2 separate regions of the Homo sapiens genome follow, and region 2 is linked to region 1. The links are contacts of gene promoters, found by promoter capture Hi-C in blood cells and fetal thymus (Javierre and others, 2016). All regions are on one chromosome and are shown on one strand. The core of a region is centred on a gene start or on the middle of the fragment in contact, and the rest is flanking DNA. Distances in the headings are between cores, read along the strand shown.

Region 1 (5,563 bases), core at 1,517-4,016:
CCACCATATGCCAGCCTGGGTGACAGAGCACGACTCTGCCTCAAAAAAAAGAAAGAAAGGGGCTGGGCATGGTGGCTCACTCCTATTATCCCAGCACTTTGGGAGGCCGAGGTGGGCGGATCACTTGAGGTCAGGAGTTTGAGACCAGCCTGGCCAACATGGTGAAACCCCATCTCTCCTAAAAATACAAAAAAAAAAAAATAGCCTGGTGTGGTGGAGGGCGCTGGTAAATCCCAGCTACTCAGGAGGCTGCAGCAGGAGAATCGCTTGAACCAGGGAGGTGGAGGTTGCAGCGAGCCATTGTCATGCTACTGCACTCCAGCCTGGGCAACAGAGTGAGATTCCATCAAAAAAAGAAAAAAGAAAGAAAGAAAGAGAGAGGAAGGAAGGAAGGAAGGAAGGAAGGAAGGAAGGAAGGAAGGAAGGAGAAAGTAGAAATGAACTTCTTTCTCTAATTTTGTTCTGACCTCATCCCTTCTTAGCTACTCAATTCAGTTGCACAGTTATTTATTGAGCACATTCTATGTATAAAGTCCTCCCGGAAACAAAGATCAGTGAAACAGTGCCTATTCTCAAGGAGTTGGCCCTCTAGTAGAGGGTTGGTCAAGATACATATACAACAAGGCCAAAGAGATGCGCTAACAGGATGAAATGGGTCTTGGAGAAGGCGGTGTTTGGGCTAGAACTTAAGGACCATAGGATTTCTGCTGGGGCTAAGTTTTGGGGAAGCATTATGAGCACAAAGGAGACAAACTAGTTTTCTACATTGCTGATCAGGTTAAAGGCTTAGAATCATGTCCGAAAAGTTGGTACAGATGTTGAAGATTATTGGTCCAGTTTCCCGTTTAATACAGGAATCCATTCTACTTGATGAAAGAAATCAGGAGTTAATGCAATGTGGCTACTGCAAGGAAACCATGGTCCCTGGTAAAGCACATTGCATTTAAAGACCTGCTTTCTATCTTGCTTTCACCTGTAAGCTTTATCATCAAGCTCCTCAACCTCTCTGAGAACTGGCTTCCTTGTCTATTCCAAGCTTGGCGCATACTATAACTAACATATGTGAAAATTCTCAGCAAGCGTTCTAAGCCCTGTTTATCAGCTCAGCACGGTGGCTTATGCCAGTAATCCCGGCACTTTGGGAGGCTGAGGTGGAGGATCCCTTCAGGCCAGGAGTTTAAGACCCACCGGGGCAACATAGCGAGGCTCTGTCTCTACAAAACATTTTAAAAATTAGCTGGTGTGGTGGTGCACACCTGTAGTCCCAGCTCCTCAGGAGGCTGAGGCAGAAGGATGGCTTGAGCCCGGGAGTTCCAGGCAGCAGTGAGCTATGGAGCACCACTGCACTCCAGCCTGGGTGACAGAGCAAGGCCCTGTCTCAAAAAACAAACAAACAAACAAAACTGTTTTACCTTTCTTTTTCTTTCTTTCTTTTTTTTTTTTTTTTTGAGGCAGAGTTTCACTCTGTCGCCAAGGCTGGAGTGCAGTGGTGCGATCTCAGCTCATTATAACCTCTGCCTCCCAGGGATTCAAGCGGTTCTTGTTCCTCAGCCTCCTGAGTGGCTGGGACTACAGGTGCATACCTGGCCAATTTTTGTATTTTTAGTAGAGATGGGATTTCACCATGTTGCCCAGGCTAGTCTTGAACTACTGACCTCAGGTGATCTGCCCGCCTCGGCCTCCCAAAGTGCTGGGATTACAGGTGTGAGCCACCATGCCTGGCCTGTTTTTCTTCTTACCATTCTGGCTAATTTCTACTTGTCTTTCAAGGCTCAGCAAGGACGAGTTGGGTAGAAAGCCTTGCAGGGTCGTCCACTTACTTTCACACTGCATTGAGTCGCCTGTTTGCAAGGTCATCTGCTCCCCAGAATGTGAACTCCCTCAGGGGTGCCTGATTGACTTCTGTAACTCCAGAGCCTGGCACAGCACACAAGATAAATAGTGGTGCGCTAGTTAAGAGCTCTGGCCTTGAAAATCAGATAATCAGGGGTTGAATCCTGGCCCTGCCACTTACTATGTGACTTTGGGCAAGATCCTTATCCTCTTCCCTGGGCCTCAGTTTCTTCAACTGCAAAGTGGGGATAATAATTACAATTACCTCATAGGCTGAAGTGAGGAGTTCAACACGGGCTCATGCACTTTTTTTTTTTTCTTTTGAGACAGAGTGTTGTTCTGTTGCCCAGGCTGGAGTGCAGTGGCGCAATCTCGGCTCACTGCAACCTCCACCTCCCGAGTTCAATTGATTCTCCTGCCTCAGCCTCCTGAGTAGCTGGGACCACAGGCGCGCACCACCACACCCAGCTAATTTTTGTATTTTTAGTAGAGACAGGGTTACACCATGTTGGCCAGGCTGGTCTCGAACTCCTGACCTCAAGTGATCCGCCTGCCTCAGCCTGCCAAAGTGCTGGGATTACAGGCGTGAGCCACCGCACCCGGCCTGGGGCTCATGAACTTAAAGATCATGGCCCAGTGCCAGGCACACGGGAATTCAGAATAGTAAGGGACAACTATTGTTAAGTTCTCTATGTCTGTTGCATAAGTAGATGAGGCTGTAGATAACTACACTCTTTGTCTAAAAGGGCCAAGTTCTCATCAGAACACTTTGCTGAGCCCCGGGTGACCGAATCCCTAGCTCTGGGGTGAGCGACATGCCTCCAAGGAGCTGCAGCCAGGAGACAGCCAGGCGAAGGCGGGGCTCTGCCTCTGGGCTCCCCGAGGGGCGGAGGCCGGCGCGCGGGTCACGTGGGGGCGCGGGAGGCGGGGCTTGCACACGCTGGTCACGCGGTCAGCTATTGACACTTCCTGGTGGGATCCGAGTGAGGCGACGGGGTAGGGGTTGGCGCTCAGGCGGCGACCATGGCGTATCACGGCCTCACTGTGCCTCTCATTGTGATGAGCGTGTTCTGGGGCTTCGTCGGCTTCTTGGTGCCTTGGTTCATCCCTAAGGGTCCTAACCGGGGGTAAGTGCGTGAGGCCCGCCTTGGGAGGAACGGGCGGTGAGGAGCTAGCAGGCCGGGGCGGGGAAAGGCACGACCCCCACACGGGTCAGAGAACGTTGCATGGGCGCCCCCCGCGCTGCAGAGTCAGGCCCCCGACCCGGCGGAACTCCTTGTGTTCCTTTTCGCAGCAGCTTCAGTGTCCTCCGGCCTGAGCGAGTGGAGGGTGACCTTTGGTGGACCCCCCTTGGAAACGAGTTTCAGGGGAATTTTTTCTCATCATAGTCCTGTGTGGGGAGGTGCAGTCGGAAATGAGCAGGCCGAATCTGGGAGAAACTGGGGTTTGTCCCTAGTCGACTGTCCCCCTTTAGCCCTGCCTTCCACCCACATGAGGCCTCGTTTGCCTGAACTTAAGGATCAAATAAATAAAACAGAAATTGGCTTCTCTGCCTCCCATGCTGTCGCGGTTGCGTACAGAACAAGCTCCTTCGACAACATTGAGCCCAGGCCTTGCATCTAGTGGGCGCCAGGAGGCGGTTGGGGCCTGATCTAAAGCGAGATTAATTACCAAAGAGCAGGAGGTATTGTTGAGAAACCCCTGCGTCATGCCTTTTGGAGGGCGCTCCGGCTCTTGTATGTGAGTGTAAGAAGTGCTTAGAATGATTGGCTAAGAAAGATTTTGTTTTTCCAGACTTCTTTGTTGGTTAGAGCTTTGTCTCTTTTGGAATTAAACTTTTTAACTGTAGTATAAAATAGAGGCTTAATCTTCAAAGGAGCCTTGGAACACCCTCTTCCTGGTTCCTCTTTTGCTTCTCAGTCATTTTTTTCTCAGTTCAAGATGATGAGAGGTGAAACTTCGACTGAAGTCAGTTTGTCAGAAACACCATCTCTTGCTTTATTCTTGAACCTAATTGGTGGCTTCATAGTGCCTGGTTTTCATAGTACCTTGTATGCACAGGAGGCACCCAATAAATACCTGTTGAGTGAATAGTTCTATTGTCTTTATTAAAAGAAAAAGATTTTTGGCCAGGTGCCGTGGCTCACGCCTGTAATCCCAGCACTTTGGGAGGCCAAGGCGGGCGGATCACGAGGTCAGGAGATCGAGACCATCCTGGCTAACACGGTGAAACCCGTCTCTACTAAAAACACAAAAAATTAGCCGGGCGTGGTGGCGGGCGCCTGTAATCCCAGCTACTCGGGAGGCTGAGGCAGGAGAATGGCGTGAACCCAGGAGGCAGAGCTTGCAGTGAGCCGAGATCGCGCCACTGCACTCCAGCCTGGGCGACAGAGCGAGACTCCGTCTCAAAAAAAAAAAAAAAAAAGAAAGAAAAAGATTTTTACTACTTCCCTAATATTTTGTGACCTGAACCCCTTTTGCTCCCTGGGATACATTTGCTTTATTAGTCTAAAATTATTTTTTTTTAAAAGATACATGGTAGATGAATTTTTATCATTTTTAAGTATCAAGTTCCTCCTCCCTGGTAACACCAGTTATATGGGGTCATCTCTCCTACCTATAGAGGTTGATGGACAGAGTCAGAATTCTGGCATTATTAAAGCAATTGTATTTACCAAAGTTAATTAGACTTGTTTTTCCTACTGGAGTTAGCGAACAACAAAGTGCTTCTTTGTTGTGTTTATATCTTCAACTGTTTCATTACCCTACTGTCTGCCTTTATGGCCTTTGTACTCAAAGAAGCATTTATTAATGTACTAATAGCACTGACAATTCCTTTCTTAAAGACCATTCTCTCCCCTTCCTTGGGATGTCATTGCCATTATCCAGGGTAATGAAACCCATCCTGTTTCCACTTAGCCCTAGAGAGTGTCATGATTCAGGTATTTGACCAGCTAGTGATATATAGACATGTGTCACTTAACAAAAGGACTATGTTTGAGAAATGTGTTAGTTGGGCTTTTGTGTGAACAAAGAGTTTACTTAAACAGATGGTACAGCCTACTACACACCTAGGCTATTTGGTAGAACCTGTTGCCTCTAGGTAGGCTACACACCTGTACAGCATGTTACTGTCCTTAAATACTGTATAGACAAATGTAACACAATGGTATTTGTGTATCTAAACATAGAAAAGGTACAGTAAAAATACATATCAAAGATTTAAAATGGTCCACCTGTGTAGGGCACTTACCATGAATGGAGCTTGCAGGACTGGAAATTGCTGTGAGTGAGTCAGTGACTGGTGAGTGAATGTGAAGAACCAGGACATTGCTGTATACCATGGTGGACTTTAGAAACACTGTATACTTAGGCTACATGAAATTTCTGAAAAAATATTTTTCTTTCTTCAAAAATAAATTAACCTTAGCTTCCTGTAACTTTTTTACTTAAACTTTTGAATTATTTTTAACTTTTTGACTCTTGTACTAACACTTGGCTTAAAACACAAGCAAGGCTGGGCACGGTGGCTCACACCCATAATATGCAGCACTTTGGGAAGCCGGACAAGAGGATTGCTTGAGACCAGCCTGGGCAACACAGCGAGACCTTATCTCTGAAAAAAATTTTTTTTAATTAGTTGGGTATGGTGGTGCACACCTGTGGTCCTAGCTACTGGGGAGGCTGAGTGAGGGGGATGGGAGTGTTTGAGACCAGGAGTTCCAGGATG
Region 2 (5,563 bases), core at 1,510-4,009, 270 kb before region 1:
TTGACGTCAAAGCTTGTCCTAGTTCTGGGGAAGTGGGATGGGAAGGGCTTCCTGCTGAGCCACCTTTGATCCCAGGTCTGATCTGGGAGAGTGACCCTGGACAGCCGGCCCAGAGGGAGTTCAGACACCCAGAGCTTTCTCTGGTGGCCACCATGGGCACCAAGCTCAGGGTCCTTCCCCAGCATAGCTGTTTGGCCTTGGGCAAATCACCACGCCCCTCCAAATCCCCCACCTGTAAAGCAGGATTAAAAATGTGTATCTCAGAGCATCACCCACTCATCAGATGCGTAGTAAGCTCCTACTTTGTGCTTCATTCTAGGGATGAAGCCTGCCCAGGCTGTGGTGGGCTCTGGCCAGCATCCCCCTGGCTGGTGGGCCAGGGAGTGAGAGGGGCCGGGAGGAGAGGATGCTCGTAGACAGAGGCACAAAGCATGTCCAGAGGTGGCTGCTAGGAGATTTCCCAGCACTAGGGCTGTGACTCAGGCTGAAGCCTGAGCCCAGGCACTTCCTGGCTGGTGACTCAGTTTCCCCAATTCTACAGCGGCATCACACAACATCTGCTTCTCAGCATCGAAGAGGCGTTGAGGCATGGCCGGTATGTGTCTGTGGGGTCCTTCAAAATCTTATTTATCAAGCAGTTAGAGTGGGCTCAGGACTTTGTGTATGTGTTTGCTCTCTCAGGTGAGCCTGAAAAGATCAGGACTGCGACTCCCATTTTACAGAGGGATAACCTGAGGCTCAGTGAGGTGAAGGCAGTTCAAGATCCTTGACAGAGGCTCTGGATCACTGCGCTAGAAAGTGGTGGGGTGGGGAAAGACCGCTGGGCTTTCTGACTTCAGCAACACGTTCTCCAGTAACCAGACTTCCGAACAGTGGCAGACAGGGCCCTCTGCCTGGCAAGCACACACCACAGGACCTGTCCCACAGAGGGCCTCCCAGCCCGCTCTGCCAACCTCACCCACAGGCCCCCAAACTTGAGAGGGTTGACATAGGCCATGGAGACCTGTGCGAATGTCTGCCTTCCCTACTCCAGTCGACCCCCTGCATCACCCAGAGCACCAGGCCAGGGCCTGGAGTCACGCTCTCCTCTGCCCAGCACTGCCAGGAAGGCAGAAGGTGAGACACAGGAGAGAATGCATGGCGAGAGTGGGCATTTATTTGGCACGTCCTAGGTGGGCTGGGCTGCTCGATGAGATTTTAGGTATATTATCACCATCAGGAAGATTCTAGAGGTAATGAAACTGACATCCAAGAGGGGAGGTGACCTCTCCAGGGTCTCCACCCTGTGCGCCTCAGTTCCCCCAACTGTGACATTGGATGAAGGAGCTCATGCTCAGGGAGGCTGGGAGGGGTCCTGAGGAGGGCTCAGAGCAAGGCCTTGGGACAGCATAGTCCCTGCAAGGGAGTGACCGCTAGGGGCCTTCCTGGGAGCCTGCTGTGCCCTCAGCCCCAGCCCTGCCCACCCTCCCTTTCCCTCTCTGCCTTTCTCCAGAGCACGGCTCAGCCCTTTGGGGCTCTGCACTTTGGGGCCAGAGAGACCTGAGTTAGAATCCAGACCTGCCACTCACTGGTTATGCGACCTGGGCTGAGCGGTTCTTTTTCTCTGAGTCTCAGTTTCCTCATCTGTCTGCGTAAATAAATGAGGGTAATAACCAGCCGCATTTCAAGGGGTCTGGAGGTTAGGACATCATATCTTTCAAGTACCTGGTACGCTGTCTGACGCAGAGTAACCATTTAATAAAGCGGAGCTGTTGTTGCTGTCGCTGTCATTGTTGGCGTTTATTTATGAATGTCGAGGCGGCAGGTGGGCCTTGGTGGGACTGTACGGACATTTCCCGGATGCCCGGAAGGTGGCGCTAGAGACCCCCTTGTCGGCTCCCAAGAGAGCGCTAAGCATGGTCTTCACATCATCGGGAAGAAGCCAAACTTAGACGCCCGGATGGTTTCCAGCTCTGTTAATTCCCTGGGCAGATGCTTCCTGAACACCCCAACAATGTTCTCAGGTCCACCACTGGGGCTGCGGACCTGGGGCTCCTCCCCACCAGCCACCCCGCCCTCCCCAACAGGCCTCCACTGCCTTTCTCTCCCTCCCTTTGTCTCTCCTGCCTCCTCCCTCCCTTCGTTTCTTCCTTCCTTCCTTCTTACAAATAGGCACTGTGCACCTACTGTGTGCTGGGCTCTGTACGATGAACTGGAGATGCCCAGGGAAGAAGACCTTTGAAAGGCTGTGCCCTCTGGAACCTCCAAACTACGTGAGGACACAGAAATAAACAAGAGAAAGAAGAAAAAAAAAGATGCTTTCAGATCCTGGCAAGCATCGGGAGAAAATACAACAGGGTGGTGGGATAGAGGGACGGAGGAGCTGGGGTGAGGAGAAGGCGGGAGGTGGTCAGAGGGAAGGGCCGGTGTGGAGGGGGCCGCCGGAGCAAGGACCCTCGGACACGCAGCCCAGCATATCAGGGAGAAGAGACAAGAGGAAGCAGTCGGGTGGGGGCAGATGTGGCCAGAATCAGAAGCGGGTCTGCGAGGTACAGACTAAAGGGCCGGTCAACTGCTGCAGCAACCACAGCCACCACTAATGCTTACTGAGCACTTACTAGGTGCCAGGCACTGGCATTGTCCCATTTTATAGGTGGGGAAACTGCAGAAGGGACCGCAGCCAACAGTGTTTTCAGGGGCCCTGGGAGTTCCCAGGGCCACTGGTGGAAGAAGGAAGAGAGAATGCTCAGTGAGAGTGGGCATGCATTTGGCACGTCCTCGGTGGGCTGGGCTGCTTTATGCTATTTTAGGTACATTGTCACCATCAGGAGGATTCTAGAGGTCATGCAACTGGCATCCAAGAGGGGAGGTGACCTGCCCAAGGTCACAGTCGGGGATTGGCAACCCTGAGACCTGAACCCAGGTCTTCCCCATTTGGGCAGGTGGCCCCCTGTGCCCAGAAGCCTCAGAGCCCTCTGGAACGCCATTTTCCTTGGGCCCCACAAATAATCTGGCTTCAGTTTGCCCCTGAGCCCACCTGTCAGCAAATCCACTCCACATCCCTCGGGGATCCTGCTCTATTCCACCTCCAGCACTCCCACGAATCCCCATCTCTCCCTGGATGGCTGGATCCTGTTTCCTCCTTTCATGACACTCTGACCATCTAAAGTTATCAGACCTACTTGTGTACATTCATCTCCCCCACCAGACTATACCCTGACCCCAGTGGGTCTCCCCAGCCTCCTGCCTCAACCCCCCTAACCTTTCACCCTACCCTTCACCACACAGATGTGCTTACACCATTCTGAACAAGCACACCACTCATGAGAGCAGGCACAGACCCATCTTCATCCCCCTCTCCTCACAGCTGAGCACAGTGTGTGCATGGAGAAGGGGCTCAGTGAAGATAGGTGGATGGATGGATGGATGGAAAGACAGATAGATGAATGGATGGGTGGATGGATAGAAGTCGAATGGATGGATGATGATGGTGGACAAATGGATGAATGACGAATGGGTGGAAGGAAGATTAGTGGATGGATGGATGGATGGATGGATGGGATGGATGGATGGATGGACAGGATGGATGTATGAATAGATGGATGGATGCATGGATGTATGGATGGATGGATGGATGGGTAGATGGATGGATGGATGGATGGATGGATTGGATGGATGGATGAACAGATGGATGGATGCATGGATGTATGTATGTATGGATGGATGGATGGATGTATGGATGGATTGGATGGATGGATAGGATGGATGAATGGATGAATAGATGGATGGATGCATGGATGGATGAATGGATGGATGGACACGAGGGATGGATGGATGGACAGGATGGATGGATGGATGGATTGGATGGATGGATGGATAGGATGGATGGATTGGATAGGATGGATGGATGGATAGATGAATAGATGCATGGATGCATGGGTGGGTGGATGGACAGGATGGATGCATGGATGGATGGTTGGACAGGGTGGATGGATGGATGGATGGATGGATGGATGGATGGATGGATGGATGTTTGAAAGACTACTTGACCTAAGCCTGTGTTTGCTTTTTGACCCACAGGAAGGAGGTCAGAATAAAAGATGGCAGCAGTGACCCAGGTAAATAAGTCCTCCAGTGTGGGGCTATGGTGGGGAAAAGGGGTTAGGTGCCAGTGCTGGGGATGGGCCATCAGCAAATTCTGGCAACATCTAATGTGCACAGAGCAATGATGAGTAAACCCCAAGACGTGACCTGGAGCATCTCTTGTAAAGAACAGGGAGAGGGTGTAGTCCCTGAAGCTGGGACCAGGGCAGCAAAGCACGTCAAGGCTCTGACTCAGCCAGGAGCCATGGGAGTTTGAGAAACTGGGCGCAAACACCCACCTCATGCATGAACACGGCTCTGTATAGGCATGAAGGACTCTCACTTGTGGTGCCATGACTGAGCTTCCAACCATGGTCCTTGAAGCCAGTGGGACTCTACTCATGGTGCAGATGGAGAAACAGATGCTTCCAGAGGGGAAGTGACTTGTCCAAGACCACCCAGTCAGAAAATGGCTCACAGTTGGCTTGGGTGGGAGTTGGTGGGGTCAAATGGTTCTGGAGGGGCCAGAGGCTTGGGGTACGGGACTGTCAGGCCGGACTCAAGGGTCCTCAGGTGTAGACTCAGACCTGCCGCTCCAAGCTATGTCTCGAGTGCCCTGAGTGCCCTTCCCCAAATGCAATCTGACTGTGTCACGCTGTTTTTTGGAATCCTTAGGTGGCTCCCCAGTGGTGCGGGATCCTGTCCCAGACACTGGCTTGGCCTTCTGGTTCCTTCATCCCCTGCCCCGCAGACTTCTCCAACCTTGTGCCTCCACCTTCCACTCTCTGCACCCTGCCCTCCACCATCCTGACATGCTTACGTTTTCCTGAACAAACAGACCATATGTGCTTTCTAAGGCCCACACACATTTACACAGGCTGAGCCCTCTGTTAGGGACACCTTACCAACCTTCTTCACTCCAGTAGTTCCTACGGTGTCTTCAAGGTGTAGCTCTGGCCTCAACTGTCTCTGATCCACCCACTTACGTTTAGGCGGGGCAAGGTAGTCCCACTCCTTTCTGCCCCAATTACATGCTATGCTGAACTCTACCATCAAGACAATTACCATAGGCGATAATTAGCTGGTTACTAGTCTGCCTCCCCAGCTGGACTGTGAATTCCAAGAGAATGAGCTTTGGGACTTATTCACCTCCGTATCTGTAATGCCTGGCACAGCAGCTAGTTATTATTTGTGGAAGGGAGGGAGGGAAGGTAGAGAGCACCTTACAGTCTGTGAAGTGTTCTTTCATGCATGTAATTATTTTTAAACTTGGGGCAGCAAGGAAACATGCTGGGAAGGGTCCTCACCTCAAGCAAAGTTGTCATGCAGCAATCCTTTGTAAACCTGGTGTCTGGAACTCAAAACATAGAGGAAAATGGTGCCAAAGTGTTCGACTTTTGGAATATGGATATGCAGAGAAGCACCTTATGCTAGGGAAAGGACTCAAGCTTTGGAATCCAGAAGTACTGCAGTTTCAGAACGTTTCTAGCTGCAGGAAAGG

What was found. The method cuts DNA at HindIII sites, captures the fragments that hold promoters and counts their contacts. A CHiCAGO score of 5 or more calls a contact.
Region 2: a fragment that was not itself captured here is called in contact with the fragment with the promoter of ATP6V0E1 in region 1 in 1 of 17 cell types (neutrophils); the score reaches 8.6 in neutrophils.

What each region holds. Positions count from the first base shown.
Region 1 is chr5:172,981,005-172,986,567 of GRCh38, forward strand. ATP6V0E1 (ATPase H+ transporting V0 subunit e1) reads left to right here and starts at 2,767. Exons shown (of 4, transcript NM_003945.4): 1 at 2,767-2,960. The coding sequence starts at 2,857. RefSeq lists an enhancer at 2,582-2,876 and a silencer at 2,642-2,821. The HindIII fragment of the contact is 8,334 bases long and covers 1,035-5,563 here.
Region 2 is chr5:172,715,123-172,720,685 of GRCh38, forward strand. No RefSeq gene overlaps it. Among named protein-coding and RNA genes, the nearest start is that of DUSP1, 53 kb to the right of the region's middle. RefSeq lists an enhancer at 1-95. The HindIII fragment of the contact is 5,498 bases long and covers 11-5,508 here.